Linked DNA regions of Homo sapiens: regions 2, 3, 4, 5, 6 and 7 are each linked to region 1. Evidence: promoter capture Hi-C in 16 types of primary human blood cells and fetal thymus (Javierre and others, 2016). All regions are on one chromosome and are shown on one strand. Each heading gives the region's core, a stretch centred on a gene start or on the middle of the fragment in contact. The rest is flanking DNA. Distances are from core to core; before and after follow the strand shown. Region 1 holds the start of PKD2L2 (polycystin 2 like 2, transient receptor potential cation channel). Region 2 overlaps KLHL3 (kelch like family member 3). Region 3 has its middle 22 kb from the start of FAM13B. Region 4 overlaps FAM13B-AS1 (FAM13B antisense RNA 1). Region 5 has its middle 25 kb from the start of WNT8A. Region 6 overlaps KLHL3 (kelch like family member 3). Region 7 overlaps KLHL3 (kelch like family member 3).

The links. Contacts are between HindIII fragments. The CHiCAGO score rates a contact against its expected background, and 5 or more counts as called.
Region 2: a contact is called between a fragment that was not itself captured here and the fragment with the promoter of PKD2L2 in region 1, in 6 of 17 cell types (naive CD4 T cells, naive CD8 T cells, total CD4 T cells and 3 more). The highest score is 7.5, in naive CD4 T cells.
Region 3: a fragment that was not itself captured here is called in contact with the fragment with the promoter of PKD2L2 in region 1 in 1 of 17 cell types (naive B cells); the score reaches 5.2 in naive B cells.
Region 4: a contact is called between a fragment that was not itself captured here and the fragment with the promoter of PKD2L2 in region 1, in 4 of 17 cell types (total B cells, naive B cells, total CD8 T cells and 1 more). The highest score is 6.0, in total B cells.
Region 5: a contact is called between a fragment that was not itself captured here and the fragment with the promoter of PKD2L2 in region 1, in 1 of 17 cell types (M2 macrophages). The highest score is 5.8, in M2 macrophages.
Region 6: a fragment that was not itself captured here is called in contact with the fragment with the promoter of PKD2L2 in region 1 in 1 of 17 cell types (naive CD4 T cells); the score reaches 5.1 in naive CD4 T cells.
Region 7: a contact is called between a fragment that was not itself captured here and the fragment with the promoter of PKD2L2 in region 1, in 2 of 17 cell types (M2 macrophages and naive CD8 T cells). The highest score is 5.4, in M2 macrophages.

The regions. Positions count from the first base shown.
Region 1 is chr5:137,888,207-137,892,461 of GRCh38, forward strand. PKD2L2 (polycystin 2 like 2, transient receptor potential cation channel) reads left to right here and starts at 1,251. Exons shown (of 15, transcript NM_001300921.2): 1 at 1,251-1,316; 2 at 2,275-2,376. The coding sequence starts at 1,286. PKD2L2-DT (PKD2L2 divergent transcript) reads right to left here and starts at 1,113. Exons shown (of 4, transcript XR_948815.3): 1 at 941-1,113; 2 at 1-82. The HindIII fragment of the contact is 1,963 bases long and covers 639-2,601 here.
Region 2 is chr5:137,656,740-137,660,917 of GRCh38, forward strand. KLHL3 (kelch like family member 3) reads right to left here. Exons shown (of 15, transcript NM_017415.3): 8 at 1,392-1,541. Among named protein-coding and RNA genes, the nearest start is that of MIR874, 11 kb to the left of the region's middle. The HindIII fragment of the contact is 430 bases long and covers 1,596-2,025 here.
Region 3 is chr5:138,053,134-138,057,450 of GRCh38, forward strand. No RefSeq gene overlaps it. Among named protein-coding and RNA genes, the nearest start is that of FAM13B, 22 kb to the left of the region's middle. The HindIII fragment of the contact is 1,758 bases long and covers 1,816-3,573 here.
Region 4 is chr5:138,034,035-138,038,330 of GRCh38, forward strand. FAM13B-AS1 (FAM13B antisense RNA 1) reads left to right here. Exons shown (of 2, transcript NR_037900.2): 2 at 2,159-4,296. LOC124901077 (a long non-coding RNA gene) reads left to right here. Exons shown (of 2, transcript XR_007058952.1): 2 at 1-639. It also overlaps a transcript of FAM13B not described here. Among named protein-coding and RNA genes, the nearest start is that of FAM13B, 3.1 kb to the left of the region's middle. RefSeq lists an enhancer at 2,225-2,434. The HindIII fragment of the contact is 4,067 bases long and covers 785-4,296 here.
Region 5 is chr5:138,106,943-138,111,007 of GRCh38, forward strand. No RefSeq gene overlaps it. Among named protein-coding and RNA genes, the nearest start is that of WNT8A, 25 kb to the left of the region's middle. The HindIII fragment of the contact is 5,133 bases long and covers 1-4,065 here.
Region 6 is chr5:137,640,397-137,644,165 of GRCh38, forward strand. All of the region lies in intron 8 of KLHL3 (kelch like family member 3), which reads right to left. Among named protein-coding and RNA genes, the nearest start is that of MIR874, 5.4 kb to the right of the region's middle. The HindIII fragment of the contact is 6,724 bases long and covers 1-3,769 here.
Region 7 is chr5:137,683,244-137,687,321 of GRCh38, forward strand. The region is part of intron 5 of KLHL3 (kelch like family member 3); the gene reads right to left. Among named protein-coding and RNA genes, the nearest start is that of MIR874, 38 kb to the left of the region's middle. RefSeq lists silencers at 1,197-1,442, 1,417-1,711. The HindIII fragment of the contact is 2,531 bases long and covers 255-2,785 here.

The sequences.
Region 1 (4,255 bases), core at 1-2,500:
AGCTGCTGGGAGAGGTTGAGCTGGGGATCCCTTAAGATCAGGAGTTTGAGGCCAGACTGGGAAATATAGCGAGACTCCATCTCTAAAAAAAAAAAAATTATGTAAATTTGATTACCTATATATGGGTGTTTTTCCTCTAATAATTTCAATTTCAGATAATCTGTTACTTTAGAAAGCATAATTTTGTGAACAGCTGAGAGTCCCAGTACAGGAAAGCCCAAATCCTTTTGTTAAAACTATTCTAAAGCTTTTTTTCCTCTCGGGCTTCTAGTTCACTGGCTGTCAGCCTTTTGCGAGGCCTCTCCTGTTCCTCTCATCGATGGTAGTTTTTGACCCTCACTACTGTGTGGCCGTTTTGCTTTTTATCTACACATAAAACAGCATTTATCGACAGCAGTCTACATCTCTTTCAGGGAAATAACAAAAGTGGCTTTATCTTTTACTTTCAAAACTGGTTAGTGGTTTTCTTTGCAGGTTTCCCTGGGGCCTTTGGACTGGATTCCATTTTATTTTCCTTTTTATCAACACGAGAATCCGTCCTGGTCTTACATCCTGGAGGGCTTTTGGCTGCCTTAATTTACAGCCAAATTAGTTTGGCCTTTTCTATAGCTGGTTTACCAACCTTCTCATCTTTGCAAAGCTTCTGGGTCAGATGTGGGTCTGGGCCCCAGGACTCCTGTGTCGGCCTGACCTTTCACATAATCACTGCAGAGTTTTTCATCTATTTTTACATCACGGGGGCAGGGGAGTGGAAGCTACTTCCAGCAACAGCTCTCGGTTAATAACCAGTTTCTGCAAGTAGCAGCAGCAGCAGCAGCGTAGGGTCACGGTTAGGAATTTGGGCTTGGGCATCCAAGACTTGGCCCCAACTTCCAGTGAATTACTTCATTTCTCAGCTTCTCGGTTTCTTCAGGCCTAAAATGAGGACAAAAATACCTACCTTTCACGGAGGTGGATGTGGAGACTAACAAGGCGATAAATGTTAAAGGTATTCGAGAGAGAGAAGCCCGTGATAATGAATGACTACGATTTTTAAGCCCACAGCCAGGTTATTCCCAGAAGTTGGCCCTCCGCACCAGACCCCAGCAGCCCGCAGCCCGCCTCGGGCGAAAGGCCTCCCGGGCTCCTGCGGCGCAGCCGCGCTGACGACTTGTCGAGTAGCTCGCCGCCCTGGAGGAGCTGGGGGCTCGCGCAGGCGTCAGAGCCGGGCAGCGCGCGCCGCAAGACTAGCGCGCAAGCGCCGCGGCCTCAGGCGAACGAACGGGCGGTGTAGTGCAGGTCCGCCATGGCTGAGGCGTCACGGTGGCACCGAGGCGGTGAGGGGTCCTCTTAAGGAGTGGGAGGGACAGGGGCGATTTGGCAGTTCCAGACACCCTGAAAGGAACTCTGCGGCCCCAAATTCGTTTGAGAGATGTGACTGCCGACACCTTTAGCCCTCACAGCCTCCCCTGGGGAAGCGGAGAGGGACAGATGGTCCCATTGCACAGACGGGAAAACTGAAGCCCTGAGCGAGGTGGCGCTCGCCTCTTGCCGGAGGCTCGAGCTGGGCGTTGTCACCTGTCGAGTGACCGTCGCTAGGCCGGTCTCTAAAGTCCTTGGTTGATCTGGGGAGTCGTGACCTTGACAGAATTCAAGCCGAGGTGTTTTTCCCCTGTCCAGCAGAAACCAGCCTTCCCAAGAAGCTGTATTGAGGGTGGAGAAAACGGTTAGGACAGATGAGAGGTTTTACTTGTTTCGTATTTTGCTTTTTCATCTTAAGACTGGCGAGAAGACATCATGATATAAAATCTGTTAGTGGCCGGGCGCAGTGGCTCAAGCCTGTAATCCCAACACTTTGGGAGGCCGAGGCGGGCGGATCACAAGGTCAAGAGATCGAGACCATCCTGGCCAACATGGTGAAACCCCATCTCTACTAAAAATACGAAAATTAGCTGGGTGTGGTGGCGCGCGCCTGTAGTCCCAGCTACTCGGGAGGCTGAGGCAGGAGAATCGCTTGAACCGGGGAGGCGGAGGCTGCAGTGAGACGAGATCGCGTCACTGAACTCCAGCCTGGCGACAGAGCTAGACTCCGTCTCAAAAAAAAAATCTGTTATTAATAGTATATAGTAAAAAAATTATCCCTGCCTCGTAAAACTAAGAATTGAAAAATAGCCAGAAGCTATTGGAGCTTTCCTCCCCGCAGTGTAAGGACTAAAAGTGGCTGTGGTTTTTCCATTGTTGTCACTTATAAATTACATAATAATGTAAAGAAAAATTTTGTCTTATATCTCACAGGGGCTTCGAAACATAAGTTGCATTACAGAAAGGAAGTAGAAATTACAACCACACTTCAGGAATTGTTACTCTACTTTATTTTTTTAATAAACCTATGTATATGTAAGTACACAGATATAAAGATGCTGTTTGTTTGAACTAAGAAGTTAAAATGTGGAGATGAAAAATAAAACATACAAACTTCAAAACCACAGGCTGTCAGGCTACTAAAACTCAAAATACAGTGACACGTTTAAACATAATCTTAAATTCATTTAGATTCATTTCATTTAGAAATTGACTATTTTCAGTTCTTAAGGGGCAAAATTTTACATCGCAAATGTAAGAAGCTTCCATAGTCAATACTGACTGAATTAGAATTATTCCTTTCATTTGGCAGTTCTGTCTTGAGCATAATTCATCCCTTGGGTTGGCAACTGCAATTTGATTTTGTTTAGAGTCATATAGACACATCAGCTGAGTTTCATAAATCAAAGTACAAATGAGGCCAAAGTTCATCTTGGTGTCTGCCATTAGCTTGGTTCTTTTCACTGACCTATTGCAGTTAAAAAAATAGTTTGTGCTGAGTCAATGCAAATAATTAAGGAGGACTGGGAAAACATCTCAACCTGCATTCCTCCTACCTGTGGGTCAATAGCATTGGCTTAATATGCAAAGAGGAGTATTAAAGAGCATTTGTCGATGGCACCCAACATAACAGTAGATGAAAGCTCACTGGCAGTATTGTCTCATGTTGGTATGTGCTACACACTGGCAATTGTATAGCAATTAAGTAATTAATTGGTGTTGTAGGGGTGAGTTTGAGTCTGCTCTTGATTGAAAAGACAACTATAAAATTAGCCAGGTGTGGTGGCACACCCCTGTAGTCCTAGCTACTGAGAAGGCTGAGGTGGAGGATTGCTTGAGCACAGGAGGTCGAGGCTGCAGTGAACTGTGATTGCAACGACTGCACTTCAGCCTGGGTGACAGGCTGAGACCCTGTCCCAAGGAAAAAAAAAAAAAAGATAACTGTAGGCAACTTTATAAATTAAGATATCTTAGACTGCTTTATAAAAGCTTGGTTATGAAAACTACATGCTTACTACAGAACATTTGGAAAATGTAAAAATGTAAGTAAAAAGATCATTTATAATCCCATTATTCAGAGATTTTTAAAGAACACTTTTTTTAATATAATACAGCAACCTGAATCTCCATTTATAATGTGATTTTTTTTCTTTTTTTTTTCTTTTTTGAGACAGTCTCGCTCTGTCACCCAGGCTGGAGTACAGTGGCTCACTGCAACCTCCACCTCCTGAGTTCAAGCGATTCTCCTGCCTCAGCCTCCGGAGTAGCTGGGATTACAGGCCTGTGCCACCACGCCCGGCTAATTTTGTATGTTTTTAGTAGAGACAGGGTTTTCACCATGTTGGTCAGTCTGGTCTCGAACTCCTGATCTCAGGTGATCCACCCACCTCAGCCTCCCAAAGTTCTGGGATTATGGGTGCAACACCACGCCCCGCCACTAGTTAATATTTTTAAAAACTCATCATGTGCCAAAACACAGTTTAAAATGTTCTGTGTGCATCATCTCACTTCTCACAACAAAACTAGGGGGTAAGAGATACTATCCCTGTGATGGGACTCACACCCTTATCTGTCTGAATTCAAAGTCCATGTAACCTTAACCACTCACCATACTATATTGCCTTACTCTCATGTAGAGAAAAAGTCAACTTGCAGAATAGTGTGTATAATGTGTCCTCATTTTTGTAAAGATAAAATTATTTTCTTTATAAATGTGTATGCATAAAGAAATGTCTGAAGAATATTTGCCAGACTAATTCTAGAAACCACATCCTACTTTTTATATTTCTAGTTTAGATTTTTTAAATTATTACTTTTATAATTAGATTAATAAAGTTTAATTTTCAAAATTGAGAAAAAAATGTAACATTTTTAATCCTGATAAGCTGAGTTTTTAAATGTAAATTATTAAACA
Region 2 (4,178 bases), core at 561-3,060, 230 kb before region 1:
CGTGAGGCCAACAGGCAAGTATGCACTCTCAGGTTTACAAAGGTGAAGCCAGGTGCAGGATGGTATGAGTTCAGAGAACAGGTTTGGAGAGTGATAAAGACTCAGTTCAAATGCTGGTTCTACCACATTAGCTGTGTTGACCTTGGGCAAGTAAATTAACTTCTCTGAAACTCAGTTTCCTCCTTTATAAAACTAGGATAACTATCTCTACCTTGTAGTGTTGTTGAAAAGATTAAGTAAGATATTCAAGTGATAACCTCAGCACTCAATAAAGGTTAGCTGCTTGTATTATTATCTGGGACACTGAGACATTTGTTCACATTGCAACCAATATATTCCCCATGATCCAAGGTCAAGGAGCAGAGGGGAAAGAAGGTCCTGCAAACCTCAGAGAATTCCAACACCTGGTCTTGGAAAACAACATGCCTCTAGCCACTGTGAAACCTTCCTGGAAGAAGCAGGCAGGGAGGATGGCAGCCAGCTGGAAAGAGGAGGAGGAGGACAAAGCAAGGGCCTAAATAATTTCCTGGTGCTGCCTACTGTGTCATCAATGAGACAACACGACCCACTCCTCTCCTCCCACCTTTCCTCCTGGGTTGACTGATTCCTTCCCCCAGACATCAGCATGTTAGACTCCTAAAACGACTACTTTGGTGCCACACCAGACAGGACTTTAGGGATCGAGTGGAGCATCCCTCATTCTATAGATAAGGAGCCTGAGGGTCAGAGAGGAAAGAAGACTCGCAGGGAACCAAAGCAGCCAGCACACACCATAAACTCTAGGTCTCTAGATCATGGGGTCCCCTCCTGTGTCTTCCTTCCCTTTCCCTGGCTGCTCCCTCACAAATTCTCATTTCTCCCATTTCCTTCCTCTGCTTCGTGACCTGTCAAACTCCTCAATTTGACAGGGTCCCTTTTCTTAGAACCCCTTTTCTTCTCTGGGGCAGCCCTAATTGTCCTTTATGTCCTTCCCTGAGTGGGGAAAAGAAACAGACTAGGACTATTCTGACTCAAAGAATGGCCTAGAAAGAGGACTACTATGGCCATCACTAAGTGAAACCAACATAGCCATTCCTCTGCTTCCAACAGAAATAGAGCACAAGCCATGGTGTGAAATGAGAAGTCAGGGTGGGGGTGAGAGGGAGCTCTGAGTTATTCTCAAACCTCCCTGATGACATTGGAGGTTACCTTGAAACTCTTAGGAAAGGAAGACCCCAGAAGAGAGAGGTACCAGCAGATTCAAGAGGAACCAGCAGACTCCATCTCCTAGGTTGTAAATGCAACCAAGATGCAGGGCAGCCATGGGTGAGGAAAGACTTGGAGGCAGGAGTGGAAGGCCACTTTCCCAGGGCACAGTCCTGACTCTTGGTGGTGATTGGGCTGGGGCTTACCTTGGGAAGGCTGACTGGAGTCCTGGGCTTGGTCCTTGGGTTCTTAATCAATAGTCTCTGATCCAGAGGGAGGAGATGGTATTTCATGGCCTCAATGAGGAAGTCTTTACAGGTGTTGTTATTCTTTATCAAAGCTTCTTCTTCAACCGTCTAGAGGTAATAATCCACAGATGATCCTGGAGCACAGCTCAGCCACATTTCCCAAGCTTTCACCCTGGGCTCAGTCATTCCTGCACTCCCACACTCATTCATTCCTTCACCACATCATCTCAGACCCAAAGAGTTACAACTTACTGCTCACCTCCTGCATTTTAAGAGCACAGTGGGATAAGGGATCAAGCTCTGGCATTAGACCAGATCCACTACTTAACGTCTCTGATCCTCAGTTTCCTCATCTGTAAAATGGGCATATTAAAGGTATCTACAACCTCACTAGTTTTGTTTGTTTTGAGGCTTAAATGAGTTTATGCAAAACAAAAGACAAGTAGCCATCCTGAAAGCCTCTAACCACATTTCTCCTGATTTGAATGCATTATAATGCTTAGGGCAAACAGACATCTGAGAGGAGGAGTGAGGGGAAAGAGGAAAGGGTGTGGGAGCCATCAGCCAACCTTTGGAGGCATTGAGTAAAATAAGCTTGTCAAGGAGAAAGATTCATATTCGTTGTCTTATAGTGAAGGTCTCAGGGCAGAAAATCGGCCAGTGAGGCTCCTTCTAACAGAGTAACAACATCAGAGCAGAAAAATTACCCTGCACAAAGTCCCACCTATTGACCTCACCTAGGACTCCATCTAAGCTGGGGCTCTGGCTTCTTTATCTCTTATTCCAGAGCTTAGGACCTAAGCAGGTGCTCAGCACATGTAAGCCTAAAGGTTTCATGAGCAAGACCAAGCATGAAGCCATTCTGGTGCTCTAACTCTCCAATCCCCACCTTTTGGCCCAGGTCAGATCACTGTGTGGCATATCTGGAATGGGTAATGTGGTCTTCTGGGGCTGCTTTGTGTTAGGAAAGATCAATTCCATTCAACAGCTAACACTGATTGAATGTCTCCTGGTTGGGCAGCCCTGTGCTGGTCCCCAGGAAGAAAATGATGAACAAGACAAAATTTCTGACCCTGAAGAATTCAAGTCCAGTCAGAGAATGAGAAGGGCCTCCCACCTCAATTATCTCAGCCCTCAAGTCAGTGATGCACAAGGCATGACTGAGCCTCTCCTGGGTCCCCATCTGTCACTAGGAATGAAAGCATGGCCAGGGCCATCATCTGCTGGGCAGCATTGGAGCTGGCAGGGAAAAAAGGATTGGCAAGAGAAGGCCTCTGTGTACCTCTGACCACCTCCCTCCCCAGAGACAGTCCCCAAGAACTGTTTTCCTTGGAAGGTTTTTTTTTCCCCTCCCAGTAAGGAACTGAGCCAGCTTGAGACAAATCATAAACTTCTAGGGTCAATTACAAAATAAAAAGGGTGGGAGAGGATGCCTGAAAAAGCTTGGAAGGAAGGAGAAATGCATGAGCAGCTATTTCTCCAGAAGAACTTACTCAGCTTGAATTAAAAGTTCTCCTGGAAAGTTAGTGCTTCATGGGTACAAGAGTTTCAACTTTGGGGGTGATGACAAAGTTTTGGAAATCTTTATAGTAATGGTTGTACTGAATTTGAATGTAATGAATGCCTCTAAATTGTACACTTAAAATGGTTAAAATAACAAAGTTTATGTAATAAACATTTTATCACAACATATTATACATTTAGTACAATATTTTTAAATGCTGAGTAAAAGCCTAATAAATGCTACCTTTTGTGAAAGAAAAAAAAACCTCCCCCAGAAGTCAGGCAGTGTTGGTGGAGGTCTGCCCAGGGCTTTCCCTTCCTTCTCCTCCTCCTCCTCCACCACCATCAGCCATCCCAGCAATTATACTCATTTGAAGTTTCAAAGTCAAATGAATGTAATGAAACATCCTATTCCAGAGGTGTTCACTCTGAGAGGCCTGATAAAAGGCCTTTCTGCAAAAAGGGCAAAGGGAGGAGTCCCACACAACAGTTCTCATGCCCATTGCCTCTGACCCCCTTCTTTTCCAGATCTAAATTCTGCTTTGGCATAATAACCCAGGAGCCATTTCCTAATGGTGACGTTTGTTAAGCTTCAGTTGTGGATGCCTGATGAAGTTTGTGACCAACGGTCTCTAAGGCCACTTTAGCTTTCTCTGGAACCCAGGTCCCCAGGTTGCCAACCCTCCCTGTGGAAGCGAGACTATACTGGAGTCCAGGTGCCTCCTCCACCTCCAGCCAGCTTCCCACAGGACAGTGGGAGGTTTGACTGACACTGGATGCTCAGGCAAGTTCACTTCCTCCGCTTAGGGGACCTTTTCTACAGGAAAGATATGCTGCCACCAGGTGGCAGTGGTATCACCCAAAGTAGCATGCATGCCCCATTTAAGAGCTTGCAAGCATATCCCTCAGCACCTGAGAAGGCTGAAGTACGGCGATTCAGGGAACATTTCACTGACCCCTCATATCTGCAATCTACAAGTGTTACCAGCAGACGAGTTTACAAGTGCTCGTGAGGATACTGTGTCACCTGCTACTAAGAATCACAGCAGTGGTCACAAAGACTACAGAGTAAGATCAGTAACATTCACTGAACACTGTATTATAGGCCTACATGGATTATCTCATTTTATTGTTTATCCCCAAACAATCCTATAAAGGCAAGTGCCATTTTTTCCCGGTAAGAAAACTGAGGTTTAAAAAGGTTAAGCATGTACCCAGTATTATATGGCTGGAAAGTAACAA
Region 3 (4,317 bases), core at 1,445-3,944, 170 kb after region 1:
GCTGAGGCAGGAGAACAGCTTGAACCCGGGAGGCGGAGGTTGCAGTGAGCCAGGGTTGTGCCATTGCACTCCAGCCTGGGCGACAAGAGCGAAACTCCATCTCAAAAAAAAGATTTTCACTTTTGTTTTTCTCAAATGTGATTAACCTAATGTGAAGTACAGGAAATGTGATTTTTCTGATTTATTGTTCATATTGATCATAATGTTCCCAAGAAAGAAAGATGGGGTAAATTATGTCTAAGAAACTGCCAAACTCCCTTCTTTTCTCCCCAAAACATTAAGCACCTATGTGATGGGTTGATAATAGTCTGAAGCTGGGATGGATATATGGAGTCACATTAAACTAGCCTTTCTACCTTCATATAATTAAAATTTTCCACCAGCTGGACACAGTGGCTCAAGCCTGGCCTGTAATCCCAACACTTTGGCCAGGAGAATCGCTTGAGTCCAGCAATTGAAGACCAGCCTGGGCAACATAGTGAGACCCCATCTCTAAAAAAAAAAAAAAAAATCCAATAAAAAATCACCCCAAAAAAAGTGCCAGGCACTGGGGTAGAACACAATGAGTAAAACAGTTTCTATTCTTTTGAGGAGCATAATCCATTTTGTTATCATGGTAACAGCTGACAAAGCACTTTCTCAAATGTATTAACTGATCATCCTGTAAACACATATTATGATTCCACGTTGATGTGGGAGCCTCCTACTTTTTGCTATGCCCTTTCTTCCTGGTCTTTCTTGTTTTCTGTGATAAATCTGTTCTAGGGAGGGTCAGATCCCTGTCAGTTGGGGGTGGGAGGGGTAGAGCGAGACCAGGATGGAAAGAAGACCTTTATCCTGTGGGTGGAGACCTGAATGGGGTTAGTTTCAGGATATCTCAGACAATATCATCAGAATCTTAAATGCCGTAGCCAACCTTTTAAACACTTAGAGTGAGCCTTTCACTTACAGATTCTTCCTTTGAATTCAGGGTGATTTTTTTTATTTTTAGACAGCTAAACTGGGTCACAGAAAAAGAGCTCCTTTCCCAGAATTACACAGAAAAATAGCATAAAATGTTATTCCCTTCGACTCCCAGAATCTCCTTCTGTGAAGTTCAACCATGAAAAGCAGGACTGATGCTTCCAGCTAAATTTTGTTTCAAATTGGTTTGATCATCTACTCTACAGAGCAACCCAGGCAGCCCATTCACCTCTGCAATGCTGTCTCCCTCAGCTCTCAGAGCCCACAGAATCTGTTCTGCTTCAGTTCTCTCTTAGAAGCCTCTACTAATTTTCCCCCACGTGGTTGTAAAGTCCTATTCATGTGTACAATGTCCACTTCTTCTTTATAAGTCAGACCTGAAAAACTTCAGAGAGTTCAACCATACTGAATATACCCTGTTGCTTCTTTGTTGTCTAATTCTCAAACGTGTAAAAAGAAGCATGAGTTTACGGCCAAAAATCAGGCTGGTTGTCAGAGACAAGCACTTGTCTATTATCCCCACTTCATCCACAATTACTTCATCCTCCCAGCCTCAGTTTCCCTGTTTACACACAGCCTAGAATCTGGTGCTTTCTCCCTCCTTGCCAGGAAGTTGATACAGATCTTGATGTAAAAGCAGGGCAAAAAGAGAGAGAGAAAAAAAAGCAGGGCCGAGGGCTCTCCAAGTTCTTTCAGAGACATAGTAAACAGTTGTTTGCTTGTCAAAGGACCTATATGGGCCACTACAGTGCAGACAACACAATTTCCCACAATGGAGGTAAGCAAAATAAAAGACCATGGACAGAGGAAAGATGACTGGAAGGAAGCCCCAGTTTTCCTTATCACCCCTCAAGCTTTGTAGGGGAGGTATAGAGGCAGTCAGCCTGACTCACAGCCAGCGCTACTGCTCCCCGGCCAAAGAGGGTTCAGAAGCGAAGGGCTGCTGGATTCAAAGGTCCTAGGCTGACAAACGTAATGGGATGTATTCATCCGAGGACTGGCAGGCTTTCCTTTCAGCTCCGGCTCCTCAGGGTATAAGTCAACTTCCTCTCACTCGTTCTCATTCCTGAGAACCCTGGGAGCTGACAGACGAATGGGGATAAGGGCCAGACTAGGAGATGCCCTTACAGCCCCAGGTAGAAGAACTGGTTCAAGATGCAGGACATCTGAGAAGAGGAAACAGATTTCCCCCCGTGGCTCCAAGCATTTCTGTAAGCACCACCTGTACCTGTCACGAGGAAAAAGCTCCTATTAGCCCTAAAACTAGCCCTCTCCACTTCCCAGCCTCTGAGAGAACGCCAAGTAATGAGAAGGGAAACCAATGAAACATGGGCTGAAAGCATTACCTCATCAGAGTGAACCCCCATTGGCTGCAATGACTCTGGACGAGGCTTGCACGCTAGTAAATTAACCCTTGTCAGGAACATAGACCTCCATGTGGGACCCCTTCCCTCCCCTACTGCTCCTTGTTTTCAAATTAGGAAAAGGGGTAGATGGGGAACAATAGACCTTTCCCTAACATTTTTCTTAGGCATAGGTAGCTATACAATGGTTATGAGGAAGTTTGTATCTCCTCTCCCCAAAATTGTTCAGTGCCTTTTGAACCAAAATGGAGCCACCTGCAACAGACTGATAAATATGGGTTACGTAGGAAGAGGCAGAGTGAATTATCAGTCGTTTTCTAAACCTACCTACCATGGAATTGTCAGAGGGGCAAAGACCAAAAAGAATAATAAAAATTAAAACACCTTGGGAAAGATTGGCAATAAATTGATCTTGTTTTTTGCAACTTATTTTTTAAGGTTATCCTCATAGGTACAGCCTCTATTTTTAATGCAAACTGCCAAAAGATATGCTAATTTTTTAAAAAAGGCAAATAGCAGACAAAAGTTTGAATTTATTACTTGAATTGCTTCATGAATAAAGTGTTCAATAAACCTGTCTTCCTACTATCAAAACTCTGTATTTGACAGAACCAAGACAAAAGATTGTTGTATGCTTCAAAAACTATGCGGCAGGCATGGTGGCTTACACCTGTAATCCCAACACTTTGGGAGTCCAGGACTGGAAGATCGCTTGAACTCAGGAGTTCGAGACCAGCCTGGGCAACATGGCAAAACTCTGTCTCTACAAAAAATACAAAACAATTCGCTGTGTGTGGTGGCACACACCTGTAGTCCCAGCTACCCGGGAGGCTGAGGTAGGAGGATCACCTGAGGCCAGGAAATTGAGGCTACAGTGAGCTGTGACTGCCCCACTGCACTCCAACCTGGGTGACAGAGTGAGACCCTTTCTATTAAAAAAAAAAAAAATTGCACTTGGTGACTAAAGTCAAGGGAGAGAAGACATCTAAGACTGACTTGATTCCCTCAAGTAAAAGTTATTAGCTCTGAGCTAAGAGCTAATTTGCAAACAAGGCGTGAAGATAACTGTAGTTGTGAATACTGAGAGCTGAGTATTTGAGAAAGAGGTCCTATGCCCATACTATAGGCAGAGGCTTTCTGGGAACATTATTATGTCTTTTATTCTAAATTGATTTAAACTTAAAATTGACCAAAATATTGTGGGGTGGTGGGGGTTGTGGTTTGTTGTTGGTGGTGATTTTTTAAAAGCTTAAAAGCACCGTTGTTTTTTTTTTTTTTGAAATGGAGTTTTGCTCTTGTTGATCAGGGTGGAGTGCAATGGCACAACCTCAGCTCACTGCAACCACCACTTCCTAGGTTCAATAGATTCTCCTGCCTCAGCCTCCCAAGTAGCTGGAATTACAGGCGCCCACCACCACACCCGGCTATTTTTTTGTATTTTTATAGTAGACATGGGGTTTCACCATGTTGGCCAGGCTGGTCTCAAACTCCTGACCAAAGATTTGTTTGTTTTTTTTTTTGAGATGGAGTCTCGCTCTGTCGCCCAGGCTGGAGTGCAGTGGCATGATCTCGGCTCACTGCAAGCTCTGCCTCCCAGCTTCACGCCATTCTCCTGCCTCAGCCTCCTGAGTAGCTGGGACTACAGGCGCCCACCACCATGCCCGGCTAATTTTTTTTGTATTCTTAGTAGAGACGGGGTTTCACCGTGTTAGCCAGGCTGGTCTCAATCTCCTGACCTTGTGATCCGCCCGCCTCTGCCTCCCAAAGTGCTGAGATTACAGGCGTAAGCCACCGCACCCGGCCTGTTTTGTTTTTTAGTGAAGTACAGTAAGTCCTCACTTAACATCAGTGATAGTTTCTTGGAAACTGTGACTTTAAGTGAAATGATGTATAACAAAACCAATTTTACCACAGGCTAATTGGTATAAACAAGAGTTAAGGCTGGGCACTTTGGCTCATGCCTGTAATCCCAACACTTTGGGAGGCTGAG
Region 4 (4,296 bases), core at 1,568-4,067, 150 kb after region 1:
CACAGTGTCTCCCACATTTCATCAGAGAGAGTAAACCATGTGTAACCTAAGTGTCACATACCCAGTTAATGCTGTCATAACCGAAGGGTGGGGTCCACAAAGAGTCTAAAACCAGAAGAATCTGAATAAGAATGTTCTATGAGGCTCCCAGGAACTCTGTCCAGGAACGAGGCAACTGATTCTAATGACCAGAACCAACACTTACTCTCAGGGCAGTTAAATCTTAATTCAGATTCACTCACTCATTCAACAGATACTTAGTGAATGCTTACTATGTTCTAGTCTCTTAAGATACGTCAGTAAATCCCTGCCTTCGTGGAGTTTATATCCTAGCAAACCTAAATTCTGGATCTCCGTTAAGAGCATACAAAGGCCCATACTCTGATTCCAAACTCAGCTAGTAGCCTTTCCATCATTCAGGGAGTCTCTCAAATAAATCTACATACCCAATAAGAAGGGATTGTCCAAGGCATATAACTAGGACTAGTTATACTAGCTGTACAGTTTTTGTCAATAAATTCATATCATGGTTTACAAATCGGACACTGTTCACTGGGTTGAATTGTTTTATCCGAATTAATTTCTCAGAGCCTATTTAAACTTGAGCGAAGTGAAATAAAAGTTTCCAAATCTGCCAAACAGGATCAACAGAGCCTGATTTCAGAGCAGCCCAGTGAAGATGCAGTCTGTGCATTTAGCCTTGTATCTCTCTTTAAATATCTTAAATGAAAGCTTTACCTGTGATTCCATGCTTGGAGAACAGGAGCAATATGATTGCTTCAAAAGCTTTATCATAAGTGCGTAAAAGTCTTGAGAGTAAATCCGAAGAGAGTTAAAAACCTCCTCCGCCTGCCCCACATATGCAACACAGGCTCTTGTTGACATAACTGACTGTAATAAATACTTTGCTCTGAATATGAAACCTAAGATGTAAGCTCCCAGAGGGAAGGATTCCCTTGCCTTTTTTTTTTTTTTTTTTTTTTTTTTTTTTTTGGTGAGACAAGGTCTTGCTCTGTCACTCAGGCTGGGGTCCAGTGTCTGGATTATGGCTCAATACAGCCTCAACTTCCTGGCCTCCAGCAGCATTCCTACCCTAGTCTCCTGAGTAGCTGGGACTACAGGGACATGCCACCATGCCTGGCTAATTTTAAAATTTTTTTAGAGATGGGTTTCCCTATGTTGCCCAGGCCTCTCTTGAACTCCTGGCCTCAAGTGATCCTCCCACCTCAGCCTCCCAAAGTGCTGTGATTACAGGCGTGAGCCACCGTGCCCGGCCTCCCTTGCGTTTTTATACCCTACCCACAAAGTATGGGATCTCAAAAAACAAATGAATTGATCAATGACCATTTTCCCCCTCAAAAACTGCAGAACATATTCTTGGAAGATATATTCTCTAGATCCTACTTGATAATATAAAAACAGTATGTTCAACATAGGGGCCACATGGGCTATAATTCAAAACAAACACTTTTATTTTGTATCTTTTGCCATGCCTTTCAATTTGTGCAGTGGGAGTAGATCTGTCATGTACCTAATTGAAAACTCAGGCAGGTTCCATGAGTTTTTAGGGGTTCTGTGGTCTCCTTAGGAATAGAGTCCTGTTGTCATTGAGTCACAAAGAGTGAAATGTTTTCCTCTTTTTCAGCTGGGAACAGTTGTCTCATTGCTTGCCCTAAAGAGGGGACCATAGTCATCTTTAACCTGCCTAGTCTTTCTCCTCCCGGCTTAACTAATCATAACCAAATCTGGGGAAGGCAGGGAGAAAAAGGAGCAGGAAAGTTGTTAACTTTGTATGATGGTTTGACATTCCCTGGGCATGGTAGATGCTTAAAGCTGACTTATTTTTTCATGGATACCTCAGAGACTACCACCATCCCCCTTCTCTGGTGGTTTCTCCCCCATAATTCTATTGGTCTAAGCGTAAAGCTATTTTGGCAGTTATTTACTTCTTTCCACGCACCTCCAACTACTTGTCTGTTGAAACCTGGGCATCTCTGTAAAGGCCCTGTCAGATAGGATCTGAGATGACTCTCACACTCGTCCATTTGCAAGTGACCCTTTATTGTGGGACAAGGTTGTGCACTCCGTACCCTAGGGGGTGCCATTCACATCATTCTCACTGTAGTTCTGTATGTTATTTATTTTAATGTTTTTCCAGCAGGTGGCAGTAAAGTGTTTTGTCCAAACTAAATTACAACGACTGCTTCCCAATAGATGGAAGCAAAGCGTCTGGACGAAGGAGAGCTTTTTTCTCATGGTGCTGCTGTGTTAGCCTAGTGACAGCTCTGTATGGCCCACACCTGGTCCACAGGAAGCTCTCAGGCACCTCTTGCCCGAACAAACTTGGGAGTACAGGCTAATCCCAGTGCAGATTCAACATTCCTCTACTCTGCTGCCAAAACAGCCGCCAGCCTGTGGGAGTCAGACACAGGCCCACGGTGCCCCTCAGACTGCAGGAGGTACAAGTCAAGTGCTCTGAGCAGATCCATTGAAGGCCCACTCCCTCGACTTGAAGTAAAAGGCAGGCAGGCACCTGTGGTAAGAATCACAGCTCACCAGCAACAGTCTCCAAAGACATTGTCCTCAATAATTCTGGTTTGGCCTTTTATAACTAAATAACTGAGTATTTAATCTACCTGCTTTGTCTAAATCCTCTGAAATTTCTAGAGGGGGTCTATCTCAGAAATTACTTTAGTTTTTTGGTGGATGGAGGGAAGAAGATGGTTTCTTTTATAATAATCTTGTTGCTTCAGTTAAAACAGTGGTTCTCAACTGCGACAATTTTGGGGGACCATGTGTGCAGACATTTTTGGTTTTTTTTTAAACTTTTTTTTTCCTTCTGAATTCAGGATCTGCTGAATACAGACATTTTTGATTGTCACCACTGGAGAGGTGCTATTGGCTGGTGGGAGAAGGTCAAGGATGCTGGTAAACATCCTTTACGGCACAGGACAGCCCCTACAGCAAAGAACAGCAATTCTGTTTGTTACAGAGATGAGAGAATACCTCACTAAAAGAATACTTCAAAATTACATCACTTTTTCTTCTTTTTTTCCTACAAATTCTTTACCTGTAGATGGAAACGTCACATTTCAATATATCAATAGAGTCAAAAATAGCATTTGCAATAGCTATTTGGCCAGGATGAGAAGTGACTGGTATAGACCAATCCTTTGTGTTTCCAAGACTCCTTCTGGAGATGAGGCCATGCCAGGAAAATTACTACTTGAGATAAAATTGTTATTTATTTGCAAGATGACTTTTAAGCCTGGAAAACAAGCATTCTATCCCAGCTTATCTGAACAGAGGCATTATGCCTCTCAGAAGTAAGGTCATGAGTCACATCACTGTGGAAGGAATATATCTTTGCTACAACCTGGACTGCATTCTAGATGCCAGGGAGGACCTCAGCATATCTGCCTCCCCAAGGTCACCAGTGTCACTGGAATGAGACTTGAAGTCAGGAAGTAGCTGTCTCTGCAGTTACTTTACAGATGGCTAATAATGCCCTCATTATTCACAGAGAATGCAAATGGGTTCTTCCATCCTTTACATGAGTTTGACTGAATTCATCTCTTCCAGATGTAGCAGGATGTTGAGCCCTTCCCTTGCACCATCAGTAAGGAAACTTTTAATCAGGTGTTTTCCTTACCGTTACTGATCTCCCTGAGCAAGGCTGTTTGAGTACTGGGATATAGATTAACTTGAGTTCAGTCAAGGCTGCCTTGTCTTTCTTAATACGATGTTAATAAGAAACGAGCCACCCTAGCCAGAAAAGCCAAAAAGATATATTCTATCCCCACCAATTCTATCACTTAAAAGTAAAATAGATAAAACAAACATTCCAAGTTCCAGTTCTAGCCCTGTTACTAGCCTTTTGACTCTGGTCAAGTTACTTAACTTAGTTGTACCTTAGATTCCCCATTAGTCAAATAGGGAAACAGACTTAAATGAATTGGTATGCATAAAAGTGCTTTATTAGCCATATACAATTTTTTCAGTTCCCTCTCCTATACTGCATTCAGAGGCCTAGAGAACAACCTGAAAATGTCTTGCTTTCATATCTGGATTTATTGCCAGGAATGAGGCCCAGTGTGAACACCTTTCTTGACAGAAATTGCCAAATCTTTGTCTATCTATTTGTAAATGAAAACCAAGAACCACTAAGAATTCCCCCAAACTCTCGGTGCTGGTTTTAAGATCTTCTGAGCCTTGTAAGTTACAGTAAATACAAGCACATCTCTTCCCCAATTAGAAGCATATTTACACTGCCCATTTGTAGAACAAGACATGACT
Region 5 (4,065 bases), core at 963-3,462, 220 kb after region 1:
ACCAGCCTGACCTACATGATGAAACCCCATTTCTACTAAAAATACAAAATTAGCCGGGCGTGGTGGCGTATGCCTGTAATCCCACCTACTTGGGAGGCTGAGGCAGGAGAATGGCGTGAACCCAGAAGGCGGAGATTGTGGTGAGCCGAGATCACCCCATTGCACTCCAGCCTGGGCAACAAGAGAAAAACTCCAACTCAAAAAAAAAAAAAAAGTGCCTAGTACAGTGCTTGGCATATAATGAATAACAGCAAATAGTAATCTTTCCATTAATGATGGGAACATAATCCATATATAAATAAGCTAAGTAAAAATACTAAAGGGAAATAATAACAGCTAATGTTGACTGAATGTTTCCTCTTTGCCAGTAGGAACTGTTATATACTTTTACATATATTATCACATTTAGTACTCACAACAGCTCTGTGAGATGGGAACTACCATTATCCCCATTTTATAGATGAAGAAACTGAGACTCAGCAAGATTAAGCAAACTTCCCCATTGTCACAGAGCTAGGAAGTCATGGAGTCATGATAAAAACTGCTTTGTTGGGAGACTGAACGAACCTATTCTTGTTTGGGAGGTTACCAGATAATTCACTTTAAAAATACATAAATGTTTGTAAAAACTGCTTTGCTGTCTCCAAAGGCCAAATGTTAAACTACTTCATAATGTACTGTCCAGCACATTATGTCAAGGAAATATATTAACTACAAGCCAAGTCAGAATTTAAGTATGAGTAGTTCACAGGCATAAGAGATAAGCATGTATTAGAGCAAAATTACAGGAAATTATCTTATAGGCTTGAAATTGTATAAACAGAAAGAGGAGGGTCGTCCAGTGTTTGTGATGTTGGGGAGCAAGGGCAAAGGAAGAGAATGGCTTTAGCAAATGTAGACGGGAATGAGCAAGGGAGCAAACAGACCACTCTAGCTAGAGCAGAGTCCATAAAGGCAGGTACGGGGGAGATTAGTTTAGAAAAATAAGCATTAGAAAGATAAGCACTGGCCAGTCTGTGGGAGCCCTGAATATCAGACTAACATAAATATAATTTTTTTAACCATATCAGCTACACACTAGATACTCAATAAGTAATTGTTGATTGTCACAAAGTAGAGAGAATTAATTTCAAACCTAGTTACTCAACGGACATAGGATGTAGGATCTGTTTTCAGTATCAGTACAGGAAGTGTCCATTCAACTTGAGTCCCATGGCCAACTGGAACAGCAACAAATCGCGTTAGTACACTGTTGGTTTTTTTTGTTTTGTTTTGTTTTTTTGAGATGGAGTCTGGCTCTGTCTCCCAGGCTGGAGTGCAGTGGCGCGATCTCGGCTCACTGCAAGCTCCGCCTCCTGGGTTCACGCCATTCTCCTGCCTCAGCCTCCCGAGTAGCTGGGACTACAGGTGTCCGCCATGACGCCCGGCTAATTTTTTTGCATTTTTTTTTATTTGTTTTTTTTTTTTTTTTTTTTTTTTTTTTTTTTTTTTTTTTTTTTGAGACGGAGTCTTGCCCTTTCACCCAGGCTGGAGTGCAGTGGTGCAATCTCTGCTCACTGCAAGCTCTGCCTCCCGGTTTCACGCCATTCTCCTGCCTCAGCCTCCCGAGTAGCTGGGACTACAGGCGTCCGCCACCACGCCCAGCTAATTTTTTGTATTTTTAGTAGAGACAGGGTTTCACCCTGTTAGCCAGGATGGTCTCGATCTCCTGACCTCGTGATCCACCCACCGCGGCCTCCTGAAGTGCTGGGATTACAGGCGTGAGCCACCGCGCCCGGCCAGTATACTGTTTTAAATCCCTCCACTTGGCCGCATGCAATGGCTCACGCCTGTAATCCCAGCACTTTGGGAGGCTGAGGTGGGCGGATCACCTAAGGTCAGGAGTTCAAGACCAGCCTGGCCAATATAGTGAAACCCCATCTCCACTAAAAATACAAAAATTAGCCGGGTGTGGTGGCAGGTGCCTGTAATCCCAGCTACTCGGGAGGCTGAGGCAGGAGAATTGCTTGAACCCCAGGGACAGAGGTTGCAGTGAGCTGAGATTGTGCCATTGCACTCCAGTCTGGGCGACAAAGCAAGACTCCGTCCCCCCGGCCCACAAAAAAAAAATTCCTCTACTTTGTGACATGCTTCATCATTTCAAAATCTTTATAGCAGTTATGTGGAGGTCAGAAGCATTCTAAATATAAAGGGAAATGATCAAGATAAGGGCAGGAAAAAAGATGAAGAGGCTTTAAAAAGAATAGAGCTATAAAGAGGAAGAAGAGAAAAGTACTACATGAAGAGAAAAAGGGAGGGAATCCAGTGAAAAGGCCAGCTCAGATGGCTTAGGAGAACTTAAAGCCAGGCCTTAGAGCCAGGTAGCTACCGAAGAATTGAAGGAGGAGGGCACGGGGGCACCCAGAATCTACAGGAAGCTAAACAAAGTCTGACTTCCTACACACAATAGTGTGTTCGGGTTGGCACCTTCCATTTTAGCAACAGAGAGATATAATAATATGATTTCACCAAGGGGACAATACCCTAATAATATTACATTTTAATTTAATTTAGGATACATATTTGTTTCTCACCACAAAGATGACAACAGTTTCAAATATTACATTTTCTTAAATCATCCCTGAGAAGCATGAAGGAATTGATAATGGTTTGCCATTTACATGTTGAACCTGTATCTATAAAAGTTGCAAACAGGCTAAGTTAAACTAGAACTTAAATTAGATATAGTACTTTATTTTAATTGAGCTTTGAAAGACTGAAGGCTTAAAGTCTAAACATTTTCATCTGAGATGTTTAGTCCATATCCAGTCATCAGATGGTTAGGAGTTTGGCATGACTAATTCTTCACAGTCCATTTGCTAAATGACACATTATAAAAGCAAGCACCACTGAAAAGGATGTGCTTATCTCTAAAGCTCCAACCTCATTGCAGACTGACTGCTTTATATTGGTCCTTGTCTAACCATTTTATGGTACAAGAAGACTCTAACCACATATATATGTTAAAGACTCCTTGAAATGTTCTCACAGTGGCAAGGACCAGAAACACTAAAGTTCAGAGAGGCTGTCCTTCTGGCCCCAACATAAAGGCCGCCCAGAAGGATCAGGATTTTATAATCCTGATTAAGATGTGTTATCCTCCCCCTCAAGATGGAGATGCTTATTCTTATAAAATAGCTTAACCCTCTCCATCCCACAATTAGATAACTTGTATTGAGAAGTAACCAGCTCCTAGCAGAACAGTTGAGAATGCTAATTAAGTAAGCTCAGTAAGGCTGCTTTAAAATGAAAAATCCTGAAAATTGAGAGAGATCCAAACTTTGCAAAGAGTTTAAAAGGAAGACCCAGAAATTGTGCTTCAGGTTGACACACTGTTGGTAGTTTGCATTTTTCAAAGGCTTTGTCTATTTCATCTAATTTGTTCGATTTATTGGCATAAAGTTGTTCATAATATTCCCCAATTGTCCTTTTAGTATTTGTAAGGTCTGTAGTGATTTGACAACTATTCGGCTGAATAAGCACAATTGGCTTGAGAAAGAATAAGGTGTGGGGGGCAGTAATTTGAGCCTGCTTTGATAGATCTTATGAAGCATAACTTTTCAAGGAGCATTCTCCCCACCTTGGCCAAAAAAATGCAGATGAGGTTAGTGGAGGTGGGGAATGGAATTTTTTTATGGGTCTAGTGATTGGGCTGTTGGTCTGATTAGCTGCCCATTTGTCTGCAAGTTGCTTTCTCCTCCCATTCTGTGCTCCCTGCCATCACCCTGCAGCTGCTGCCCAGGACGCCTGAGGAAGGGATTCCCTCTGGAGCTGATGGCAGTGGTGCTTTGGAAAGTGCCGGCAGGGGGTAGGCAATAAAAACAATTTGGTCTGGGAACAAAAGGCATCAGTCACAGCAGTGTCATCAACTCTTGATTTGGATGGGGAGAGAGAAATTTCTTGGATCACCCTGGAAGCAGGAAAGGAAGAGGTATCATTTTATTTAGTCATCTCCACTTTCTCCTATGTACTAGAGGCTCTAATTAAATTAATGAGAAAGCTAATGCAAGACTGCTTCACAAAGAT
Region 6 (3,769 bases), core at 222-2,721, 250 kb before region 1:
TAGAATGTAGGGTGCACTTATGCACTGCAGTATAGAAAAAAATTGAAAAACTCCTGTGAGATGTTTATTACAAAAGTTATTAAACTGATGATGTTCTGGAAACTAGTGCTAGCAGTCCTATTTCCACAAGTAAGGTAGTAGCTACCACTGCTAGGTACCATGTGAAATGTGTTGTCATTTACTTGTCACCACAACTGTGAGGTAGATATCATCATCCACATTGACAGATAGCAAAGTAAAGCTCAGAGAACACATGTAAGTGGCCCAAGGTCACACAGCTAAGAGTGTAGGCAGAGACTGAAACCCAAGTCTACCTGACAGAGGGTGAGGCCAGCCACCCCCCCCAACTCCTGCTCTAGAGACAGGATCCAAGCAAACACAGCTTGCTGCATCTATGTTTGTCAAAACACAGGTCGCTTTCCATTAGTAGGTCATGAAATCAATTTAATGGATTATGACCAGCACATATATTTTTAAAAGCACAGAAAATATGATAAGAATATTATTTCATGAAATATTGGTTTTGGCTATACACACTTACATGTGTCTTCTGGATAGCAATTTAAATGCATTTTGTATTGCAAGGGCATGGTCAAACACAATGAAAACTACTGCTCTGGTTAGGTTAATAGAACTGCAGTACTTAATTATGGTATCACTGCTGTGTCTTTGGTCACATGTTATTAATAAATAAAAAATTAAAGTACCAGTTACCTATAGTTTACATATTTTAATAAACATGTACAAATTCATAGCTGTCCCCACAATGATGTCACTCTCACTCAACGGCATTCCAATATGCTTTCTTGAGTGGAGAGAAAGGGTGGAAGTCACAACCAGCAAATTCATTTGATCATTACCTGTAGCTTGTCTTATTTACCCAGTGGTTCTCAAACTTGAGCATACATCAGAATCACCTAGAGGACTTGTGAAAACACAAGCTGCTGGGCCCTATCCCCAGAGTGTGATTCAGTGGATCTGGAGTGGAGCCCAGAGGCTGCCTTTCTAACAAGTTCCCAGGTGCTGCTGCTGCTGCCACTCTAGGGTTCATACTTTGAGAACCACCTTTTTAATCCATGCTCTGTATGGATTTCCTGATGATATGCCATGAACAACTTTTGCCATTATGAATTATCATAGTGCTTTTTACTTCCCCATGATGTATTTTTGGGGAGAGAAGTGCCCATCAAAATCTGTGTGAACTCGCAAAGGCACATCCCTCAAGTGAACACTTCCCACCATACGGGAGGCAAAACCAGAGCTCACCACCATTACTACAGATCAACCATTTATTCCCCAATATTCCAGAACAGGCTCACCCACTGCCATGTGGGTGGTCACTGGTCATCAGACTTAGTCCATAGCTGTCTGTCACCAAAAGTGGGTAACCAGTGTTCAAAAATTCAGAAATCAGTTCTGACTTCTAAAGCATTCCAAAGGAACCCAGGACACAAAACCCAGCCTCGAGCTGCTGCTGCTGCTGCTTCCAGACAGAAACTTGACTTTCCTGGGTGCCTCAGCTCAGAGGGTCCACTGCTCTGTGTCAAGAGTAGCCTTTTTCAGAGTAAACATGAATTCTACATTACTTCCCATTTGTAATTCTTTGCTTAGACAGGCATCCATGAACAGTTCAAGGGGGATGTTAATGAACACAGCCCCTTGGCAAACACCAGATAATGCCTAACCTACTCTTCAAGGGCAGAATGACATGTTCGTAAATATGCCCAGAACTTGCATTGTCTTTCCGGTTTTGAGTTGGTAAAGCTAAACTGAAGGAAAATACTGCAAGGATTTTCTTTGAAATCTGATTTCTGAAGCTGAGTGAGAATAAAAGCAGTTTTAAGTTTTCTTTCTGCAAGGACTTCAGGCACCCCACACCCTCCCACATGCTGTTCCCTGACTCGAAACCTTCCCATCTCTGAGCACTCTGCCTTAACACCTGCTTATCTTTCAGGTCTCAGTTTAAATGTTATTTCCTACAAATGGACTTCCCTGGCCTCCAGGTCAGAACTACATATCCGTCCTCTGAGATTTCACCTGCCCTGTGTGTTCTGCATTGTGCTGGACCATCAGTGTCTTGTCTTTTGCACCTCTAGACAGTGAGCCCTGCCCAGGCAGAAAACGTATCTGCCTCAGTCACCAAGATAACTCCATATACTTATGTTGCCAGGTAAAAGTGAGGGCTCAAGTGTTTATTTGGAATAAAGAATACATGAATAAAAAGTAAATAGCACATGCAAGGAGTTAAACAAACAATACAGAGTTTTTAAAAATGAAAAAAGAAACTAAACTAGAACGTCATTTTCTTTAGTTAAAATATGTTGGAACACCAGGTTAAAATTCTGGAGACAGTGAGGAAAAAGCAAGCAAAATAAAAAGAGAAAGTGAGAGCTTTTCCCATCTTTTGACTCAACCACCAAAAGAAAGTTTGCTTATACTTGGCATAAGCTATCCAGCTTCTTTTGTAAATTAAAAAAAAAAAAAGGCAAAGTTTTCAGGAACCCTCACCATGCCCCAGAAACTATCTCCCACCAGGGAAGTAGAGGGTACATGCATATTGGAGAAAATCTACCACTCATCTCTGAGAATTTTCACAGAAACAGTATTACAGAAATGCAAATTTTTTAATGTTAAAGTAAAGCCTGAGTAGAAATACAAAAATGATACACGACAGCTAGGTGCAGTGGCTCATGCCTGTAATCCCAGTACTTTAGGTGGCAGAGGCGGGTGGATCTCTTGAGTCCAGGAGCTCAAGACCAGCCTGGGCAACATGGTGAAACCCCGTCTCTACAAAAAATACAAAAAACTAGCTGGGTGTGGTGGTGAATGCCTGTAGTCCCAGCTACTTGGAAGGCTGAGGTGGCAGAATCACCTGAGCCCAGGAATTTGAGGCTGCAGTGAGTTGTGATTGCAGCACCACTGCACTCCAGTCTGGGCAACAGAGTGAGACCCTGTCTCAAAAAAAAAAAAAAAAATAGAATACAAGATAAGGTTTTCAAAACAAACTTGGCTTTGAGCTCATAAAACCACTGGTAAGAGATAACTTTAAACAAACAAAACTTGTACAACTATCTGGGAAAATGAATTATGAGGTTTTGTGGGATAGGACCATCAGTTTCAGAGGTAGCTCAAGGCAGCAGGAAGAGCAGGTATACATCTGCTTCTCTCATAGGCATAGGAAACTCAATTTTTTTGTTTTATTTTTAGTTGGCACATAATAGGTACACATATTTATGGGGTACAGTGTGATGTTTGGATACATGCATACATTGGGTGATGATCAAATCAGGGTAATCAGCATACCCACCATCTCAAACACTTATTATTTCTTTGTGGTGAGAACATTCAAAATCCTCTCTTCTAGCTATTTTGAAATATACAATACATTATTGTTAACTATAGTCACCCTACTGTGTAATAGAACTCCAGAAGGTATTCCTCCTCTCTAACTGTAACACAGTATCCATTGATCACCCCCATCTCCCCTCCCTCCTCCCTTCCCCAGCCTCTGATAACCACTATTCAGCTCTCTACTTCTACGAGTTTGTCTGTTTTAGATTTCATATATAAGTGAAATCATGTGGTGTTTGTCTTTCTATGCCTGGGTTATTTCATTTAACATAATGTTCTCCAGGTTCATCCACGTTGTCACAAATGACAGGATTTCACCTTTTTATTTATTTAATTTTTTAGACAGAGTCTCGCTCTGTCACCAAGGCTGAAGTGCAATGGCACAATCTTGGTTCACTGCAACCTCCACCCCCCGGGT
Region 7 (4,078 bases), core at 270-2,769, 200 kb before region 1:
TCATTGTGTTTTACCAATCAGAGATGAAATAAACCCCATAAGCCCCATAATTCCCAGGGCCAGCAGCCCCAGGGAACAGGTGTGAGTGCCTCTGAACTGAACCACAGGTCACACCCTCAGGAGACACTGGCTGACACAGGTGGACACACAAACAAAATGGAAACATTTTGGCAGGGTGAAAAAACAAAACCACAGAACTGCCTTAAAACTCTCTCTTCTGCCCCTTATTACTCTATTTTTAGAGGCCAGAGGCAAGCTTCCTTGAATCAATATTTAGCTTTCCAGGCTCACAGTTTCTCTGCTCTAGGGAAAAGGCTCAGTTCCCACAGGGAAGTAACAGAGACCCACCTTGACCTCTTCTCAGAAGGGTCATGACCACCAGCCCTCAGACTCTAAATATTACTACCTCCACACTCCCTGGGAAGGCAGGAAATAAGCTCTCTTTCCATGTTGCCTTACTCCAGAAATATTATGTGTTGTCCTCTCCCTCTCTTTCTCTCTCTCTCTCTCTCTAGCTCTCTTTCTCTCTCTCTCTCTCTCTCACACACACACATGCACGCGCACACACACACACACACATACACACAGCCAAGGGCCATAATAGTGCTATTGATTCAACAGTGAGGTTCCCCATAACCCAGAAAATGGAACAAGTGAAGTTTCCTAAAATCCTAACAAAGAGCAAGCAACGAAACCTATCTGTGTCTGCACGACTGCCTCATTTGCCAACTTCAAATTAGATGCAGAAAATCCAAGAGAGGCAGGAGTGAGGCAACCATCATAGAAAATAGGCTAGGCTGGTCTGGGTGGGTGGGAAATAAGTAGCGGGGCTTAGGACACAGACCTCTGCAGTCAGCTGGCCTCACTCTGGCACTGCCACTTATAAGCTGTTAATATATGATCTTGGACAAGTTACTAAACTTCTCTGGGGTTACAGTTTCTTCACCTATAAGCTGAGAAAATAATAACTCTTATACTTAAATGAACAAAATGAGGCCATGCCTATGAATCATGTAGCACCATTCCTGGCACCTAGCAAGTATTCAAAAATGATAGAAATGCCCATCATTATGATCATCATTATTTCATGGTGACAAGTTAGGAGCAGCAATTTTAGAAGAGGACTCTCACTGAGTCAGAGATTTATGTTTTTTAATGATTTTCCAAATTTTTCTGCTGCCTTAATTACTTCATTCCATGATCTCAAATGACTCAATCAATCAAAAAAAGGCCATTTCTCTCCATAAGCACGTGAAATCCAATGGCTTTTCCATCCCATGGCTGGAGGTTTTTGCTTAGCTTTGGCAGACTGATGTAAACAACATGTCCAAAGAATTTTAATTGCTATTTCATTAATGAAGTCCCATTAACATCCCTCCCAAACAGCTCTGCTGATGGCCCAGTGTATGGCTGTCCAATTACCAAACAACAAAGTCCCCATAACCCTAGGCCCTGGCCTCTGAGGTTAAAGATTAAGCAGTCCCTGGAAACAACAATAATGAGGTATAAGAAACAGGCTGTGAAAGACACTGGGGTCCATTTCCCAGCTACTAGTTGCCCAGGAAGACTGTGATGCCACTAGCTAAGGCAAGAGTCTGAGCAGTCAGCTTCTAAATGCGGGACCTACCCTCCCTACCCCAGAATAACATATATCATAGCAAAGATCTGGGGAACTTCCCTGAGGGGGAAACTGAATCCAGAGGAAGCAGGAGGGACTGCCACAGCAGGAAGAGACAGGGCCCTTCCAAACAGGAAACCAAATAGGCAGCTGGACATAGAGATGATGCTTCAGCCCCCACAAAGTTGTGCTCTCGCTGGAAAAGCCGAGGACCTATCAGAAGGCAAGACTGGCTTTAAAATAAAGTCACATTTGTTTAGACAGCAAGTTGGCAAAATCTATCAAACAACTTTTTAATGTACATTCTCTTTGATCCAACAACTATGCTACTAAGATTGTACCCTACAGGTATACTAGCAAGTGTACTCCAAAATATTATGTACAAGAATTCTCATGGAAGCATTTTAAATAAAAAAACTGGAAACATTAATGTCCATCAACAGAAGACTGGTTAAATAAATTATACTCCATCCATGAGATGCAGCAGACTAAAAGAATAAGATATAGCCATACACAAGGGTGTGGAAATAATTGCAAGATTTGTATTGTCAAACAAAAGTACAACGAGTACAGAGTGCTTTCTGTTGTGTAAGTTAAAAAGCATAATATATAAATTCTGTAAGGATACCAAGGATCTCCCCACTTCAGAGAGACAGGCTGGGAGAAGACTGGCTTTGCATTTTATACCTCTATGTACTGCTTGCATTTTTTGGTCATGAGTATAAATTGCTTTTATTGAATATATTACCTAAATGTTTCAAACAATGGTCTAGAAATGTATCTGCTAACATGGAAAGAAATTCAGAATATACTGCTAAGAATGTTTTTTTAAGAGATGGGGTGTCTTGTTATGTTACCCAGGCTGGATTCAAATTCCGTGGCTCAAGCTACACATGAATGCTTGAGCTATCAACCTCAACCTCCCAAGTAGCTGGGACTATAGGCACCTGCTACTGTACCTGGCTAAAATGTTTTTTAAGCTGGAAAGCATACATATACAATGAAAAAGATTTGGAAGGATATACATCAAGGTGCTGCCAGCAGTTCTCTCTGGGTAGGATTGTGGTATAATTCTTTCCACCCATGTGCTTTTTCTGTAATAGTCAGGGATGAGTTTTTATTAAAATAGCAATAATAACAACAACAACAATAACAACAGAAAAAGAAAGCTTTTTAGAGAAGGAAAAGAAACAGAATTCAGCAGCTAAACTGGAATCTACAGACAAGTGAAGGCAAAGCAAAGCTAGCCAGAAACTGGGAAGAGTAGGGGAGGCTGGACAGGACATACCTGCCTGCACTATACATCTAGATAAAGAGAAAACAAAACCAGAAGTCCTGGAAATCCTTCCTCCCCAAAAGTGCATGTGGTCTGCAGCAGCAGTGACCTGAGGATTCCTGTGTCTCCTGCCTGGACCCAACTGTGAAGCTCCCTCACTGCAGATGATGAGGCTGGCAGGGAGGCTCCACAGCACAGCGCCTGTGGTGTCTACTTCCATAGAATGCTCTCCTCCCCATTCCCCCTGTTCCCCAGATCATCCTGGAAACAGGATAGGATGCGCTACTCCCATGATAGAGAGAAGAAAATAGGCTCAGGATTACTCAGCTCCAAAGTGTTAGCTGGTCTGATTCCTAGTTCTGATCTGGAAGGTCTCCTTGTAGTTTGTTGGCATGAAATACCTTCTAACTCAAGGCCTGGGTCCAGGGAGACCTGTGACCACAGAGACCAATGCTTTCCCTTGTGTGTGACCCTAGTGGGTGCCTGCACCCCTGCACTTACAGTAGAGTGAGGTCACAGGTCTGTCTCAAGAGGCAGCAATGGTAGAGAACCCCAGGCTCCATCTAAAGTCAGGGGTACAAGGAAAAAAGCAGGCCCACGTCAGTGGGTGGGTTCAAGGGAGTAAGCATGGATAATCATTTTCTACTTCTCCTCTAAATACTGCACAATCTAACCTTCATTCCCTTCTTCTAACATCTTTGCATCATGGCCTTATCTTCTGCATTATACTACTTTAAAAATATTACCTCCCTGAGGGGCGCCTCTGCCCGGCCGCCCCTACTGGGAAGTGAGGAGCCCCTCTGCCCGGCCAGCCGCCCCGTCCGGGAGGGAGGTGGGGGGGTCAGCCCCCCGCCCGGCCAGCCGCCCCATCCGGGAGGGAGGTGGGGGGGTCAGCCCCCCGCCCGGCCAGCCGCCCCGTCCGGGAGGGAGGTGGGGGGGGTCAGCCCCCCGCCCGGCCAGCCGCCCCGTCCGGGAGGGAGGTGGGGGGATCAGCCCCCCGCCTGGCCAGCCGCCCCGTCCGGGAGGTGAGGGGCGCCTCTGCCCGGCTGCCCCTACTGGGAAGTGAGGAGCCCCTCTGCCCGGCCAGCCGCCCCGTCCGGGAGGGAGGCGCGGGGGGGGGTCGGCCAGCCGCCCTGTCCGGGAGGGAGGTGGGGGGGTCAGCCCCCCGCCCGGCTGGCTGCCCC